2 separate regions of the Homo sapiens genome follow, and region 1 is linked to region 2. The links are contacts of gene promoters, found by promoter capture Hi-C in human tissues and cell types (Jung and others, 2019). All regions are on one chromosome and are shown on one strand. Each heading gives the region's core, a stretch centred on a gene start or on the middle of the fragment in contact. The rest is flanking DNA. Distances are from core to core; before and after follow the strand shown. Region 1 holds the start of FADS6 (fatty acid desaturase 6). Region 2 has its middle 11 kb from the start of TRR-CCT1-1.

What was found. The method cuts DNA at HindIII sites, captures the fragments that hold promoters and counts their contacts. A contact is called where the count stands out against the background at its distance.
Region 1: the fragment with the promoter of FADS6 here is called in contact with a fragment that was not itself captured in region 2 in 1 of the 25 tissues and cell types used here (thymus).

What each region holds. Positions count from the first base shown.
Region 1 is chr17:74,892,040-74,895,287 of GRCh38, forward strand. It overlaps FADS6 (fatty acid desaturase 6), which reads right to left and starts at 1,594. Exons shown (of 6, transcript NM_178128.6): 1 at 1,313-1,594; 2 at 484-650. The coding sequence starts at 1,556. The HindIII fragment of the contact is 12,637 bases long and covers 1-3,248 here.
Region 2 is chr17:75,021,683-75,025,095 of GRCh38, forward strand. No RefSeq gene overlaps it. Among named protein-coding and RNA genes, the nearest start is that of TRR-CCT1-1, 11 kb to the right of the region's middle. The HindIII fragment of the contact is 7,781 bases long and covers 1-3,413 here.

The DNA.
Region 1 (3,248 bases), core at 344-2,843, 130 kb before region 2:
GTGGAAGAAGGGAGGGCAAGGGTCAGGTGAGGTGGGTACTTCCTGGAGCTGACCCCGGGGAGCAGGGGGCTTCTCAGGAAGGCTAGGCCATGGCCAGGCATCAGAGGAGCATCATCCGGAGTAAGGACGCTGCCCCTTGTGGACACTGGGCCCCTCCTCCCCCTCCCTTTCTGTCTGTGGGTCACATTTTAAACCCTGACTGCAAAATCTGGAGGCCCCACTGGTTGTAACTGTGGGCCAAGACAGCGGCATACTCATCCTACAACTCTCTACCCATGGGGTGCAAAGACCCGCTCAAGGGCTTGGAGAAGTCCTCAGACACGCTGTAGTGCATACTGCACCAGTGGACCGGCATACCATCAGCTGCAGCGGCCTGCCCCCGTGGGCACATGCACAGCTGGACACACCCGCATGCTCGAACAGAAGAATGAGGCTGCCACACGGTCCCAGCAGCTGCCTGCATCCTCCTTCTCCCAGGCTCACCTCCACAAAGAAAAGCAGCCAGATCTTGCTCCAGCGTTTGGACTCGGTGAGGGCCCCATGAGTGGCCAGGTGGCTGCCCTTGACAGTGAGTGTGTAGTGGCACACACCCAAGATGGTGATGCCGGATGCAAAGACCAGGGCATTCTCCCAGCGCAGGCACAGGAAGCCTGCGTGGAGAGGAGGAAGAAGACGGGTCTTTCTCTAGCTCTGGGTGATCTGGGCCCAAATACCTCAACCCTTACCCTGGGAGCCCAGGCTAAAGTGGGCTAGGCTCTGGGGGCTGCCACTGGCCGGAGTGAGGCAGGTCCCACTGTGGCCTGAGGGGAACCAGGACTGCCCCTCCAGCGGTCCTGACTCTCCCGTGCCTGGTCCTGACTCTCCAGTGCGTGGTCCTGGGCCCCCAGCCAAAGCAATGTTGGGGCCTCAGGTACCATGGGTGTTCCAGACCAGGAAGGGTCCAGGGGAAACTCCCACCCCCTCCCCACTCACCTAGGTCCCCAAAGAACACCGTCTCCCTTCCCGGGGGTGGGGGGGCACCTCATCACTCCCGGCCACTCCCCCGCTCCTCTCAACTTTCCCTTCCACCACCCTCCTGCGCCCCCTCCTAGGGTACACAGGGCAGAACACCCCAGTCCAGACTCTCAGGTTCGGGGTGTGACCCTCCATCCTTGGGTGCGGGGCCCCGACCACCTCCGCCTCCCTGCCGCCGCCAGTCCACTCCGCAGGCTGCACTCCCACGGCTGCTGTTGCAGACCCCGCGCCGCCACCTCCGCCGCACCCCGCCCCCACCCGCAGCCCGGCCGGGACGCCGGGTCCCCGCGTTCCTCACCTGCCGGCAAGGCGAAGAGGCTGAGCGCGAGGATGGCGCAGTCCACGCCGTGGCGCTCCCACCAGGAGCTCGTCCTCACCACGTCCTGCACCAGCACCTCCAGCTCCCGCAGCAGCGCCTCGCCCCCACGGTGCGCGCTCCGCGCCGGTTCCATGGGCTCCGTAGGTTCCATGGGCTCCGTAGGTTCCATGGGCTCCGTAGGTTCCATGGGCTCCGTAGGTTCCATCGGCTCCGTGGGTTCCATGGACTCTGTGGGCTCGGGCCCGACGCGCACGGAGGACTGGAGGACTGGGGCGTGTGTCTGCGGTGCAGGCGAGGCGGGGCGGGCCGGGGCGGAGTCACGCGCCGCCTGGGGACACCCGCCCCCGGGGTCAAGGTGCGAGACACCCTGGCTCCTCTGCTGCGGGCGCTGGCGACCCAGGCCCGGCTCAGGCGCGCGACCCTGGCAGGCGGCATCAGAACCGCCGCGGAGGGAGGAGCCAGGCCGATGAGCTGAGAGTGGCTAGGCGGGGAGGCGACCCTGCGGTGAGACCCAGCCCAGGTAGTAGGGACGGAGGCGTCAGGGGCACGGAGACCCCAGTGGAGACACCCCCCACCCCCGCCCCGCCCCGAGGGCCTTCCCTGACCTCCGACCTCAAATAACTCCCTGAGTTCCCTCGGTCCCTGAGATCTGTCCGAGCATTCTCTTCCCTCGACCCTGACTATTCGTAGTGGCACTGAGCAGCTCCCCTCGTACGTGACACACATGACACATGCTGTCGTCTGTCTCTGCCAACAGACGGACCCTCAGTGCCGTAGAGACGTCCTCGTTTTGCCCAAGCTCTGTCTTCAGTACCTAGGGCAATGCTTGGCACAGAAACATCTGGGAATTCCTAGGGCAGAAAGTTCAAGGACTCCCCACTCCCCCTCCCCGTGGGTCAAGGAGTGAGAGGTCCCCTCTGAGTATGGCTTCAGCAGAGGTGACCCAGGGGAGCTGGCTCTTCAGCCCAATAATGTTTTGGGTGAGACGGGTAGCTACAGGGAATACACATCCGGAGGTCATCATTCTGGGTGGGCAGGCAGACCAGCCGGGTCCCGCTGCCATTCCACTCCCTCAAGAGCGCCCAGGCCTGAACCCAGGGCCAGGGCCTCAGCCAAGCCCTCTGAGATGTGGGAGCCACACCTGTCACATCCCCTTCCCATCAGCCCAGGCCCCCACCCCGCACTGCTGGAGATGGCCTTGGTCCTCAGGGGATAAGCCTCTGTCCTCTACAAACTCCTCTTCCCTGCTTCTGAATACCCTTTCTCTTTTCTTTTTTGTTTTACTTACTCCCAGTTTCATGACTTAAGGGATCTGGTATGGTGAGGACAGTGGCATCTTTAGCAGGAGACCCCTAGGAAAGAGAAGTTGGGTGGGTGGGGTAAGGGAGAGACAGTCAGGGATCCTAATGACATTGATTCCTTTTGACTCCTTCCTGGTGTTTTCCTTCAGGAATTCTTTTTTTTCTCTCTTTGTTTAGAAACAGGGTCTCGCTCTATCACTCAGGCTGGAGTGCAGTGGCACAATCACAGCTCACTGCAGCCTCGATTTCCTAGGCTCAAGTGATCCTCCCCCTCAGCCTCCTGAGTAGCTTGGGACTACAGGCACACACGGGGACCACTAAGCCTGGCTAATCATGAATTCGTATGAGCTTATTCCTTTAATTCTTTATCAAAGAATAAGATTTATTTACCAGCTCAGTATTCTAAGGGACTGACAATTTAATAAACCAATTCTCACCAAGTGCACGTGCGCATATACCTGCCCCGCAGGTTATCATTGACTTTCACATACTGATGAGGTTTTGTGGATTCCCCACATCCCTCAAGGATGGCATCATCTAAGGCCAGGCGCGGTGGCTCACACCTGTAATCCCAGCACTTTGGGAGGCCAAGACAGGCAGATCACTTGAGGTCA
Region 2 (3,413 bases), core at 576-3,075:
AAAAAAAAACCACCGGGCGTGGTGGCTCACACCTGTAATCCCAGCACTTTGGGAGGCTGAGGTGACCAGCCTGGCCAACGTGGTGAAACCCTATCTCTACTAAAATAGGTGGTGGGCACCTGTAATCCCAGCTACTCGGGCCGAGGCAGGAGAATTGCTTGAACCCAGGAGGGTGACGTTGCAGTAAGCCAAAATCACACCACTGCACTCCAGCCTGGGCAACAGAGCCAGACTCCGTCTCAAAAACAAAACAAAAAGAAACTACACACACAACCAGGTAGGAGGGCTGAGACAGGTAAGTGGGCATTTGAGCCGGGCTATGGAAAAGGCATGGGACTTTCATCAGTAGACGGGAGGCGGACATGCCATTTGAAGGGAACAATGAACACAAGAGACAAAAGAGGCTGAGGTGGAGGGGGTGACAAAGAAGGCAAAGGCACTGAATGGTGGATTCGTGCAGGGTGATCCACCATTGCAGCGGGAGGTGAACCCAGAGAGAGACCGGCTTGATGTGGAGAGCCTTGAATTCAAGTTAAGGAGTTTAGGTTCTTTTATTTTTGAGATGGAGTCTCACTCTGCCATCCAGGCTGGAGTGCAATAGCGTGATCTTGGCTCACTGCAACCTCCTTCGCCCAGGTTAAAGCGATTCTCCTGCCTCAGCTTCCCCAGTAGCTGGGGTTACAGGTGCATGCCACCATGCACAGCTAATTTTTGTATTTTTGTAGAGATGGGGTTTCACCATGTTGGCTGGGCTGCTCTTGAACTCCTGACCTCAGGTGATCCGCCCACTTCGGCCTCCCAAAGTGCTGGTATCACAGGCGTGAGCCACTGCACCCGGCAAAGGTTTTAAGAGATGTGGGTAACAGAAAGCTGTTGGGAGAAAAGCTGAGCGTTGGGAGAAAAGCTGAGTGTTGGGAGAGAAGCTGAGGCAGGGCTTGCATGTCTGCTAGACTTGCTGGCTCCTTGCTTCTAGCACTCCCATTCTCTCAAGCAGCCGTATGTTTCTCCTTCACTTGATACACTTTCTTTTCAACCCCCACATCCTCACCACCTGTTTCTTTGAGCACCAATAAATACCGTGGGCTCCCAGAGCTGGGGGTCTTCACAGCCTCAACACTGGCGATGGCTTCCTGGTGCTACTTTCTCTCTCAAACTGTCTTTTTCTAATTCCTTTGACTCCGCCGGACTTTGTTGCCCCCATGACCTGGTGTTGGGTCTGATCACCTCAACATTCCTGGCTGCCCAACGTGGGGTGACAAAGACCCTGGTGAAGGAACGCTAGAGCGTGTGAAAGCGGAGAACACATCGTCAAAGGACACCCAAAGGCGTCTAAAAGAAGCTCGGCAGGAAAGCTGAGCGCTCGGAAGAACCAGGGTAACAATGGGATAAAGTGAAAGACATTTTGCTTATTTAAATTTATTTTATTATTTTTTTTTTTTTGAGAGGAGTCTTGCTCTGTCGCCCAGGCTGGAGTGCAGCGGCGCGATCTCGGCTCACTGCAAGCTCTGCCTCCTGGGTTCAGGCCATTCTCCTGCCTCAGCCTCCCGAGTAGCTGGGACTACAGGCACCCGCCACCGCGCCCGGCTAATTTTTTGTATTTTTTTTTTTTAGTAGAGACGAGGTTTCACCGTGTTAGCCAGGACGGTCTCGATCTCCTGACCTCGTGATCCGCCCGCCTCGGCCTCCCAAAGTGCTGGGATTACAGGTGTGAGCCACCGCGCCCGGCCTTATTTAAATTTCTTAAGGCATTTATTACGAAGAGGGGGAGTGAAAGTACTCAGAATTTGTTGGCATTTATTATGAAGAGGGGGAGTGAAAGTTAGTACTCAGAATTTGTTATCACTCTTTAGTACAGTAAAGCAGTTTTGCCCATGGCTTCCGGAACAAGCGACTATGGAGTTGGATGAATGGGAGAGAATCGGCAGAGATTTTTAAAAGGCGTATAAAGAGGGAGCAGATATTCCAGTTTCTATTTGGTCATGTGGGCGCTAATAAAGGCAGCTCTTGAGCCATTTCAAACAGATGATGAGGCAGATTGAGATGAGGAAGAGGAGGATGAGTGTAAAAAACTAACTTCAGATTCTGAGTGTGAGGAACAGCTACCGGAGGAGATTAAAGAAAGGAAAACTAAAAAAAGTATGTTTTACTAGCCCGTCGGCGCCCCCTGCTAAATTAAGTGAATGGCCACCTCCTCTCTCTCCTCTTAATGGGTGAGAAGATGAATTAGCTGAAAAACTTACTACTCCTATAGTTGCAATATTAAAACCTGGAGCAATTGGTGATGCTATAGAAAATTCTATTCATAAAGCTAGAGCCGAGGGAGACCTTGAAGCATGGCAATTTCCTGTTACTATCATCCAGCAGAGAAGACAGAATACAGCTAATTGGCCACTTTTCCTTTTAAGTTACTAAAGGAATTTAAGCAAGCCATTAGTCAATACGGACCGAACTCTCCTTTTGTGCAAACTCTATTAAAAAATATGGCTCTTGATAATAGATTAATACCATGTGGCTGGGATACTTTGACAAAATCTGTTCTCACCCTATCTCAGTATTTGCAGTTTAAAACCTGGTGGGCTGATGAAGCTCAAACTCAGGCAGGGGAAAACATACAAGCACAGCCACCTGTGCCTGTTTCCTTTGAACAGTTAATGGGAGTTGGCCCTAACTGGGGTTGATTAGAGAAATCAAGCAGTAATGGAGGATGCTGCCATTGTTCAGCTGCGCTTTGTGTGCTTATGGGCATGGGAAAGGATAAATGTTACAGGCGAAAAACATCCTTCTGTCAGTTCTATCCGTCAAGGACCTAAAGAACCATATATTGATTTTATTGCTCAGCTCCAAGAGGCTGTGTATAAAGCCATTACTAATAAAACGGCTCAGGATGTTGTAATACAGCTTCCTGCATACGAAAATGCTAGTGCAGTGTCAAACTGCTATTAGACCCCTGAGAGGGACGGCTCATTTAGCTAAATATATTAAGGATTGCGATGGCATTGGAGGTAACTTACATAAGGCAACTCTTTTAGCTCAGGCTATGGCTGGATTAAGAGTAGGAAAGAATATACCCCATTTCTCAGGCCCTTGCTTTAATTGTGGTCAATTTGGACACCCAAGAAAGGAATGTAGAAAAGGAAATCAAAAGGCAAACATTACTACCATCAGTCAACAGAAAAGTCCCGGTATATGTCTCCAGTGTAAGAAAAGCAAACACTGGGCAAGTCAGTGTCATTCTAAATTTAACAAGGATGGACAACCTCTTTCAGGAAACGGGAAGAGAGGCCTGCCTCGAGCCCCTCAACAAACCAAGGCACAGCCATGCCCTTACAAACGTGCAACAATTGTCCCCCACTTCAGCAGGCAGTGCTGCCATAGACCTCTACAGCACAATTACCATCTCCTTAGGAGAGGTG